Linked DNA regions of Homo sapiens: regions 1 and 3 are each linked to region 2. Evidence: promoter capture Hi-C in human tissues and cell types (Jung and others, 2019). All regions are on one chromosome and are shown on one strand. Each heading gives the region's core, a stretch centred on a gene start or on the middle of the fragment in contact. The rest is flanking DNA. Distances are from core to core; before and after follow the strand shown. Region 1 overlaps DCLK1 (doublecortin like kinase 1). Region 2 holds the start of DCLK1 (doublecortin like kinase 1). Region 3 overlaps DCLK1 (doublecortin like kinase 1).

What was found. The method cuts DNA at HindIII sites, captures the fragments that hold promoters and counts their contacts. A contact is called where the count stands out against the background at its distance.
Region 1: a contact is called between a fragment that was not itself captured here and the fragment with the promoter of DCLK1 in region 2, in 4 of the 25 tissues and cell types used here (dorsolateral prefrontal cortex, mesendoderm cells, pancreas and 1 more).
Region 3: a fragment that was not itself captured here is called in contact with the fragment with the promoter of DCLK1 in region 2 in 2 of the 25 tissues and cell types used here (dorsolateral prefrontal cortex and mesendoderm cells).

What each region holds. Positions count from the first base shown.
Region 1 is chr13:36,036,089-36,039,802 of GRCh38, forward strand. All of the region lies in intron 3 of DCLK1 (doublecortin like kinase 1), which reads right to left. Among named protein-coding and RNA genes, the nearest start is that of DCLK1, 93 kb to the right of the region's middle. The HindIII fragment of the contact is 7,729 bases long and covers 1-3,714 here.
Region 2 is chr13:36,129,602-36,133,195 of GRCh38, forward strand. It overlaps DCLK1 (doublecortin like kinase 1), which reads right to left and starts at 1,781. Exons shown (of 17, transcript NM_001330071.2): 1 at 1,513-1,781. The HindIII fragment of the contact is 11,041 bases long and covers 1-3,594 here.
Region 3 is chr13:36,015,816-36,019,530 of GRCh38, forward strand. All of the region lies in intron 3 of DCLK1 (doublecortin like kinase 1), which reads right to left. Among named protein-coding and RNA genes, the nearest start is that of DCLK1, 110 kb to the right of the region's middle. The HindIII fragment of the contact is 4,629 bases long and covers 1-3,615 here.

The sequences.
Region 1 (3,714 bases), core at 114-2,613, 94 kb before region 2:
CGTAAGACATGCCCATCAGTGTGCCATGTCAGTTTACCATTGCCATAACACCCATAAGTTACCACCCCTTTCCATGGAAACAACCTCACAACCTGGAAGTTTCTGCCTAAACTGCCTTTTAATTGGCATATAAAAAGTGGGTATAAATATGACTGCAGAACTGCCTCTGAGCTGCTCCTCTGGGCACACTGCCTAAGAGGTAGCCCTCTCCTCAAGGAGCAGCATCTCTGCTGCTGCTGTGCACTCTACCGCTTCAATAAACCCTGCTGTCCAACACCACCGGCTCGACCTCGAATTCTTTCCTGGGCAAAGCCAGGAATCCTTTGGGGCTAAGCCCCAGTTTGGGGGCTTGCCTGTCCTGTGTCAGTGTGGTATGTTTTTTCTTGGACTCCTTGAACGGCAAGTCGAATAAATACCTTGATGTTCTACATAACACTAGACCACCATTTACTACGGATTGTAATCACAATGACTCCTTATATTTTTATGTGCTTTTGAACCCAAAAGGATATATGTGTGTGTATGTGTAGGTATAAGATCATATACGGTATATATGATATATATAACATAGAAAGTCACATTTTATTTACATATTAAGTTATCAGATTTTATACATGTTAAACATTTATATACTATACATTTATAATTTTAATGAATAATACGTTAATTTTGAATGTAATTGTTGGTAAAGCTCTTTAGGAAGGTTAAAAACAGCATTATCTCTATCCTTAAAAAACTTTCTAAAAAATGAAAAATAGAACTATGATATGATCCAGCAATTCCTCTACTGGGTGTATATCCAAAAGAAAGGAAATCAATATATTGAAGAAATGTCTGCACTCCCATGTCTATTGCAGCGCTAGTCACAATAGCCAAGACATGGAATCAATCTAAGTTTCTATCAATGGATGAATGGATAGAAAAATGTGATATATATATCACACACACACACAGTGGAATATTATTCAGCCATAAAAAAGAATGAAATCCTGTCATCTGCAGCAACATGAATGGAACTGGAGGCCATTATGATAAGTGAAATAAACCAAATGCAGAAAGACAAATATCACCTGTTCTCTCTCATATGTGGAAGCTTTAAAAAAAAATGATCTCATGAAGATAGAGAATAGAACTGTGGTTACCAGAAGCCAGAAAGGGTAGGGGTTGAGGAGGATGAAAGAAGTTGATTGAAGGGTACAAGCACACAGTTAGATAGAATAAATAAGGCCTAGTGTTCCATAGAGCAGTAGGGTGAGTATAGTTAACAATAACATATTACATATTTAAAAATAGAAGAGAATTTTTCTAATGTTCCTAGCATAAAGAAAAGATATATATTTAAGGTGGTGGATATCCCGATTACCCTAATGTGACCTTTTTTCTCGTGGTTTTTGTTTTGTTTTGTTTTGTTTTGAGATGGAGTCTCCCTCTGTTGCCCAGGCTGGAGTGCAGTGGTGCGATCTCAGCTCACTGCAACCTCTGCCTCCTGGGTTCAAGCGATTCTCGTGCCTCAGTCTCCCAAGTACCTGGGATTACAGGTGTGCATCACCACACCCAGTTAATTTTTGTATTTTTAGTAGAGACGGAGTTTCACCATGTTGGCCAGGCTGGTCTCAAACTCCTGACCTCAGATGATCTGCCTGTCTCAACCTCCCAAAGTGCTGGGATTACAGGCATGAGCCACCATGCCCGGCCACCCTGATGTGATCTTTACACATTATATGAATTTATCTAATTATCACATGTATGTGATAATGTATCAATTAAAAAAAGAAAATTTAAAAAATAGAAAGAAAATCTAATCCCCTACTGTAAAAAAAGAACTTCCAAGGTTCCATGGGTATGGCTTATAATGTGTCAGAGACACATTAAGACTTTTAAGATACAGCTCACTGCAGCCTGAGTGGTAATAAAAGGAAGACTTTGTGAACAAAGAAAGCCTCTTGGAGGCGGTGACTGTGACATTTATTTTTCCTAGATATGTCCAGTAATTTATTGAATCCAAGAGAATAATGGAGAAGCAAGAGACCATCAACCTCATCTTTGGTAGCTTTCTCATTTTATGAACAAGGAAGCTGGGTCCCATAAAAGCTCAGTGACTTGTTACCTTGCTTGCTAAGCTGGTAACAGTTCCCAAAGATGGGTGTGAATGAAGAGGCAGGACAGGTCACTGTCCCCACCATGGGTCCATCCCTGCCCCTGAGGTTTGTTTTAAGGCCCGGAGATGGTTCGGTCTTCCAGAGTGCTTCCTGGTTACAGGAATGAGAGCCTCCCAGGGGCAGGGCAGAGAATCCTGGAGAACCAAATACAGTAACAAGAGCCTAGAGCTTAGCTTTGGTCAGGAAAGAGAAGTGAGAGATGGAATACTGAGGTACCTATGGGGCAGAACTTTAAGTCAAGATCCCAAAGGAGCAATGATATTCTTTGGCACATACCTGTTTTTGTTTTAATCAAATGCATAATCTCAGAGGCTTTTCCAGTACATGTTCCTAAGCAACTTATGCACAACTGATCTTTTAGAAGCAACATATTTGGTGATGCTATTCAGGTAGGTGGGTAGGTAGCTGGCATGTCTTCCATAAATGCCAGCATGATAATGAAAATGCTTAATATCTATTTAATTTTACTAAGCGCTATGACAAGCACAGCAAAGTTACCTCCTTTAATACTACAACAATTAGTGTTCATGCGTTAGACACTATTTTTCTTTTTCATTTTGCAGATAAGGAAACTGAGGTGTAAAGTTAAGAATGTGTTCAAATATCTAGGAGGTAGCAGATTCAAGACTTGAATGAAGTTTCTCTAATTCCACAGCCAAGGATCTTGAGCACTCATTTTAGAATGTAATCCCCTGTGTGTAAAATTTATGTCTAACATTTCATGATTCACAGCACCATGTCCTATGACTAAAGAAAGTATTTCACATGACTTAGTAGTCATTCGTCAGGCGCCTACCAATGAAGAATCCTATCAAATGTCCAGCTGGCATTTTGATCTGTCACTGTTGTAGAAGATGCAGTTTTCAAATTTAAAAGCAACTTAGAAAAGATATAAATATCTCATTTCAGGTAAGGAATGAGTAGGAAATGGATTCAGGAGCACAGAGAATCTCAACAACTGATAAGGCTTTAAAAGAAAACTCCAGAAATAACTCTTGGCCACCATGTATTTCTGAAGTGTGAAACTGCAACCCATTGCCAGATCCTCTGAACAAAATCTGTGAAAAATCAAAGGACATAATCTGGTAGGATTTCTTCTGCCATTGGAGCTATACTGAGCTGCAGGCAATTCTGGCTGAAATGTTTCACTCTTCCAAAAGGTAGCAGCTGGCCTCTGGTATAAAAAGCAAATTGGTGAATAAAATTCACACTCTTCAAAATGTGCGAACATCGGTGATTTTTTTTCAGCACCACTTTCTTCTAAAGCTAAACCAGAGAGGCAAACACTGACTTTTAAAAATTCCCTTTTTATTTAAATTTCTGTCAATTTTCTTGGTAAAATGTTTTGTTGAAAGTATTGCATAGACAGGGTTACTGTGCACACATGTACACACACACACACATACAAATACACTGCCCTTCTATCTTCCAAAACTAAGCGACAAGGTAAAAAAAAAAATCTTTGATCCAGCTAAACAAAGACCTAATTTAATCATGAAATTCTGAAAGTATGACTAAGAGACATAAATATGTTGCTGTATTTTTATGAATTTAT
Region 2 (3,594 bases), core at 531-3,030:
CCATGCATGAGCTTCTGAAGATCCACTGGCCTTCCACAGGTTTACACTTTCTGCACAGGAAGGCTGCGAGAACACACAGCTCAATGTTCAGAGACCATAGGTGGCCAAGGGCCTGAGTGCACATGTGCAGTGGCACCAGGATGGTAACCACAGCACCTCAGCCACAGCGACCACAGACACTGGAGGTAAGAAGGGCCACTGGCTCTCATCAGAGCTTTTCCTATAAATCCTGCCATTTCAAGAAACCAACATCCCTGATTGTTCTCGGTGGGATTTCTCACCATTTTGAGGAATCTATGTTCATCCTTCTCTAGATGAGCACATGGTTCTTGTTTCAGAAATTTACACACATATATACCAAGAAAAAAATGGCATAAATGCTACCACATCTAAATAGATGCTGGACCTGGAAGTCCCAAGGCATATTTTAACCGTGGGATTAGGATTCAGGTGGACTGGCATGAAATAAAACGCACACATACCTTCCAGGCCCGTGCACCACCACGGACGTAGACATCACAGGGTGTGTGCATATCTTTTATAATTTTCCTCTATATGACCTCTCTTAAAAAATCCCTTCTGACCTGCATCCATGTGACATTTCATACTTAAAACGCTGTCCTACTTTCCTTTCCCACTGAAAGGCAATATATTTAGGAACAGTCATAAAATGTATTCACGGAACAGCCTGCAGTGTGGTCGCTGAACGTGTGTGCACCGTGCCTGGACACACTCACAGGTGCAGCAGAGAGGGAGCCGGTTTGAATGAAACCTTTCATCTTCTCTCTCACCGACCAAGCATCTCCTTGCCAAATCCAGGAGCAATTCCGCGCAAACCTGGTTTTCAAAAGCAGCCTCTTTTGTGGGGCATTGCGGGGCTGTGCGTGCGCTCCCACTAGGAGGAAAAAATGCCATTTCCTCTCCGCAAGCTTTTAGCACTGCAGGTACTAATTTGAACATGAGGCAGCCTCGCTGTCCCTGAAGGAACTTGAGACCCTGCAAACGTACTTGCAACACCCACGCTGCAGCCACCACCACGCACGAATCGACCCCATCCACAAGCACACATCACTGGCCCGGGCACACGGAAAAGCACACACACAATAAGAGGCCGGGCCCGGCCACTCCTTCCTTGGTTCCCGCTCCGCAGCCAGTTCTGACAATGACAAGCACCTCTCCCAGCTCCTCCGCCCTGGCTCTCCATCTCCACTAACAACGCGAAAAGCCTGGGAGGGCCCGCTCGCCTGACTCCAGGTTTAAAGCCCCATGGCACCAAACAAAAGAGGCAGGTGCCAGCAGCCCCGGGGCCGCCCGCACGCAACGCCCCCGGGTCGGGCCAGGCTGGCCAGGGCAGGGCGGCCGCCTTTCGAGGAACTGCGGGCGGGGCGGCGGGGCCAAGCTGAGCGCCCGCCCTGCCCTCGGCGCCCCGCGGCTGCGGGCGGAGCGGGCTCTGCGGAGTCCCCCGGCCGCCCTCCCCGCAGCTCCCGTCCCCAGGGAAGGCAAACCACGCACCGGTCCGCGGAGAGACGCCGCCGGGGGTCTTTGTGGCCGCGCTGGGGGCCGCCTCCTGGTGCTGTCCTCGCCGGGCTGGGCGCGGCCGGGGCTGCGGGGCTGCAGGGCTGGGGGGCGGCGGCGGGGCCGGGCTGGGCGGCAGCAGCTGCTGGAGCGCGGCGCCTCGGTTGCGGCCACTAGTGCAGGGATGTGCCTCGGCCCGTCCTCATTGAAATGCGGCGCTTCGCACAGCCTCACTCCAGCCTCTCTCTCCAGAGGAGGGCGGCGGCGGCGGCGGCGGCGGGCGCGCTCCCTTTTCTTGTCTCACTCGCTCACACGCCCTCCCGTCTCCCTCCTCCTCCTCCTCCTCCGCGTGCGCGCCCCGTCGCCCCCGCCCTTCTTGGCAGGGCGCACCCACCACGGCTGCGCCCCAGGTCCTCCTCCCTCCCAGCGCCCTCTTCCCACCGCAGCAACCTCGGTGCATCTGGCTTGACTACACCCCTAAACCTCCCTAGTCCCCACAAGTAGTCTTTGGGAGATGGGGGCAGATCAGATGGTGGAAGAGAACGTGGACAGGGCTGAGTCTGAGCCAGGAAGTGTGCAAGGCACAGAGGTGATATGGCCGAGAGATGAGGCCCCCACCGTCGGGGGAGGGAAGGAGGTACCCACACTCATACCTTTTGATGTGACCTCACGGTCTGACACCTTTCCCAGGGTATGGAAGCCAGTGGATCACCTTCTCATCCTTTTTGCCCGGGATGCACCCACGCAGTGCCTCTTCGGATGACCAACCCTCCCAAGCTATGCACTCTGGTGCCCCCCACATTGGGAAGAGCTGGATCTGTTCATGGATCCCACCCATCATCTCCACTTAACCCCAAGACATGAGTCACTCTTGGAATAGTGACCTCTGCTTAGAGTCAAATATGTTCCAAAGGGCCCTTGAGAACTGAAGGGCCAGGTTTCACTGCTGGACACTTTGTGGCTGCCAAGGCTGGGTCTGCGGTGGAAAGCCCCATGAGCTCATGCGAGCCTCTCCTCCCAGAGGGGGAATGTTCTCCTAGCCCAGGCTGTTCACAGCTTCCTCCAGTCTTTGCACAAAAGTCCAGGGAGTGGGAGCAGCTCCCAGATTTCGGTGAAATCTTAGACTGGCTCAGTACGCAGCCTGAATTTTGATCCAGTTAATCTGACTTTCAATCCTGTCGTCCACAACCTGTGTTTGTCCCAAATACACATGAGTATACAAAATACACATAAGTATTTTTCTCTCTTCCTGAGCCTACACCTTTCAATGGAACATTAAAATTTTATTTTTCTCTTGCCCATTGATCCCAGTTATGTGTTTGACTACTTATTATTAAAAAGTTCTATTCTGAAATACTTTCCAAGTATGATGTAAATGTTAAATAATTACCATTTGTTTTAAAACACAGCTCAAATGAGATCCATGCTACATATTCCACAAGTGATGCGATATTTATTTTTGAACTATTTAATAGCCCAGAGATGAGAGTACAGTGAACTCACCAAATTAACTAAATGCAAAGTAGTAAGCCTATTCTTTCACATTCTGAGGCAAAATGAGAGCCATAGGGGTAAATTAAGAGAAAGGAAGAAGCCAAGTACATCTTCTGGAGAACAGAAATCAGAGCTTCTTTTTATCTTGCCAATGACAAATGCCAAGTGATTTCTTCCAAAATGCTAAGCCAAGAAATAAATTTCATCTCTTAACCCCTATGGATATTCTACTAGGGTCATTTCTTAAGAGCTTTAAGTAACTCACCATCATCTTACCTCTTCCTAGCTGTTGTACCTAGCACACACAGATAATGTGTTCAGAGAATCACCTTGGTGTTTGACTCTCTCAGTAGCAAAGTGCTCTCACTAGAAATAGTTGGGCATCATTAGCTCTTTAAGGAAACCAGGGGGCAACTGATAATTAAGTAGATGAAGACATTAAATAGTATACATTGGCCCTACAGTATGGTCATATCATTTAGTCCAGGACAGCAGGCTGGTACTAAAGTTCATTCCAGGGCAGCTTAAGCATTTGGCAAATCTAATTTATATTCAACAATAATTCCTTATTGAAATGAAATCTAA
Region 3 (3,715 bases), core at 51-2,550, 110 kb before region 2:
GACTAGTTCAGGCCCTCATTGTATTTATTCAGACTAGAGATGAAAAACATCAATTTGTTAGAAGACTGTCCTCATGACCATATTTATTCTGTCACACTTCTGCAAATCCAAGCATAAACAGGTTTAGAAATTAGAACCAGTTAACCAGCAAATCACTCAGTGGCTAGGACATCGAATACTTTCATATATTTATTTGGGTAATAACTACTGAGCAACCAGAAGGCTAGTGCATGGACAATTTACTTCATTTAGATGGTCTTGCCAAGAAATACTGATATAAACAACCAGATCAATTATGCAGTAAAATTCACATTTCGTGTTCAAATGGCTAGAATCACTAGTCTGGGGGAACTGCTGCTTTATACATGTAACCCCAGGCACAGACTAATGGAAAGCAACACAAACTGCTACATGCTTACTCTACAGAATAGGTTTGCAAATTTAACCTACAGTACATTAAAATGCAGCATATCTCATATTTGTATTAGCCATATTTTAATACAAACTTTCTGTATTTCCTTTCTGCCATTATCCTTCCCAGTCATATGAGTGAACTATTAATGATCAACTAGTCAAGGGGTCACCATTAAAAGGAGCCCTAAATAGCACAATGATTCCATTCCCTCCCCCATCAAGAAGCCATCCCAACCCAGCAATTAAACCAAGCAAATCAGGCTAACGGAGCATACACATAATGGTAGAAGAGAAAAGCACAGCCAATAATTACCAAACAGTCACTTTCTTTTATCTGGATTTCCTCTTCCCTATCATTCATCTCACGAGAGAAGCATACAATAAGGACATGACCCCATGAGTTTTTATCATGGATCCTGCAACAACCTGAACACATTTTCTTTATCCTCGAACAATAGAAACATAATGCAAGCCACATATGTGATTTTAAATGTTCTAGTAGCCACATTAATAAACTAAAAAGAAATAAATGAAATTAATTTTGATAATGTATTTAATCTAATAATCTAAAATGTTATTTTAACATGCAATCAGTATAAAAATTATTGAAATATTTTATATTATTTTATGGCATGAAGTCTTTGACACGGTGTGCGTACTTCACATTTACAACACACCTCAAGTCAGACTACTCTCATTTTAAGTTACACATGGCTAGTGGCACGAAATCAGACAGAACAACTCCAAACAAAAACATCCAACCAAATGAGAAAGGTTGCTCGATTTGCCTTGCAGAAAAATATCAGCAACTGCATAATACCTTAAGAAGGTGAATACTAAGCAGTTTGATAAAATAACACATGAATCCCTGTGAAAGCAAAGATGTATTTTTTTGAAAGGTAATAACATTTTTAGAAATAATAAAAAAGGAAGGAGACAAGGATCATAGCAACTTTTAATACAGAATTGGAGTTACTGATCGTATCTCCAAACTGCGGGATCTGTTCGTGGAATAATTATTTTCACAGCCTCTCAGAAGGAAGTGATCATATCCTTAAATAACTGAAAAACAAAACTCCAAGGCTAGACACAGAAGAACAGAATGTCAAGAGCAAAATGTCATTTAGACTGATGAAGATAGAATGTAACACAACTGGGAAAGTCCATAACCTTTGGAATTAAATAAAATCCAGTGCAGGGGATAGTTTGATACCCAACATTCTGGGAAACCAGAATTCTCTTTTAACCAACACATCTATAAAAACGTATGACTCGATAGCTAATGTTGTAGTGAGTACTCTGGGGTATGGTATGATCCAAACATGACTTCAGAATCAATGAAAAACTAAATGGTGTTCAATATCATTTTACAGCAGATATTTAATTGCATTCTCAATCTCTGAAACTAGTCATTAATATGGTGTGTGTAGGGTAATGCTTCACCAACCACCACATGGAATTATCAGAGCCCCCTCTTTACCTATCATTGCCAGATCTCAAAATTTACTGTTTATCTAGTTTTCTGTTTGCCATACAAAAAGCAGCCGCATTTTATTTCTTACATCCCACAACTGCAACTCTCATCACACACTTACACACACATGCATGCACAGACTGCAAACTCTTTGCCATAAGAAAGGACTTCCAACACTGACCTCTGCCCAGCACCATCCTCCCGACTCATTAGAGCCATCTGTGGCGAGAAGATTCAGTTTCCCAAGCACATGAGGTCAGTTCTAGATGATGGCAATTTTTAACTCTATTTGCACTGCTAATAACATCACTCAGTTCTTCTACGGCCTTTATTTCCACTATGGCCAGGAAAGATTAACACACTTGCCTACCACTGAAAATGTTTTAAATTCTGTTATTCAACAGGAGAATCTCTTTTATTTGACCAAGGAACTTAATGTGTTAGAGTGGTTCCTCTGCTGTTGATTTCTCTACACTACACATTATGATTGTAAAATTGTAACCAATTGTCATGTGTACCCTATAGACTCAGTTTGTACACATCCCTATACACAAATCCAATTTTGTACATAACCTTTCTATTGATTCATTTTCTTTTTTCAATTAAATATAAACAAAAATCTTTTCTCTTAAGGGAGCAAATTTGATTTATGGCATAAAATTCATAAGTTAATTTTCTTGTGCAGTTTATAACTTGAAGTTAATAATTATTTTAAGCATTCCTAAAAATCAGTTTAAAATGTTTTTCTATGCATGTTTCAAAATCATTAATCATCTTTTAGTCATCCTCAAACTGAGTCTGACAAATGTAGCATAATTATTTTTTACATGGTTGCTCAATTGAACAAATTACATGAATCAAAATGTATGCTTCTTTTATACACAACCAGTGCCTATTAATTTTGATTTCAAATGTGTTAATTTACTGTGAACATTTTATAAGGCTACCTATAAAGATTTTCTCATGGATAATTATTTATGGAAGAATATAATTTTTAAATAAAAAATTAGCTATCCAAAAGTATAAAATGTTGGGCAAAATTTTAAAAGTGTATCCCTTTCTCATTCAAATGTTTCTTTCATCCATATTTACTTTGCTGTGATATAAATTATACACATTATAAGTGAACTTGCACAGACAATCTTCTGCAATTTAGTTTAGAACTTGGAATATTGTTGATAGCACTCTCTCTATGGCCCTTGATTGAATGCATTTTCTTTCACTAAAAATGCAGATAGCGCACATATCCAAATGAATATGTTACAAAATATTATAGACCCAATTGCTTGTTTCAGGATCTCAAATTTATCTTGAGGTATGTGTGGTAACTTTGCATCTAATTGGCATGCAAATTTATTCTTATTTTGCTTTTTCTAAGTATGCTACCAAAATGAGATGCATTTTTTCCATGATTAATGTCAAAGGCACTCTCTGAATTAATTTATTTCTGTCATTTTCTCCAACATTTTAATTAAGCTGTTCCTTAACCTTCTCATATTTGTTCTTTTAGTTATTATAGAAACTGATAAGATGGTTCCTGTGATTAAAAACAAACTATCCCGTATTCCCAAGATCCAAGCCTATGTAGAAAACAGAACTCAGTTTTCAAATAACTTGGCCACTGTTTCCTTAAGCTTTGGACCTTTCTACTGAACCTTTCTCCTTCTAGCCCCAAATGCCAGACCTGAAAAAGTGTAACTGATAGATTAACAGATAATTATTTATCCAGAGTCTTATCAAAAGTATTGTCAGCCTGTTTCTTCACTTACTACACAGCACAGTATATATACATCACTAATGTATGCATCAATGTGTTTAAGCTTACAT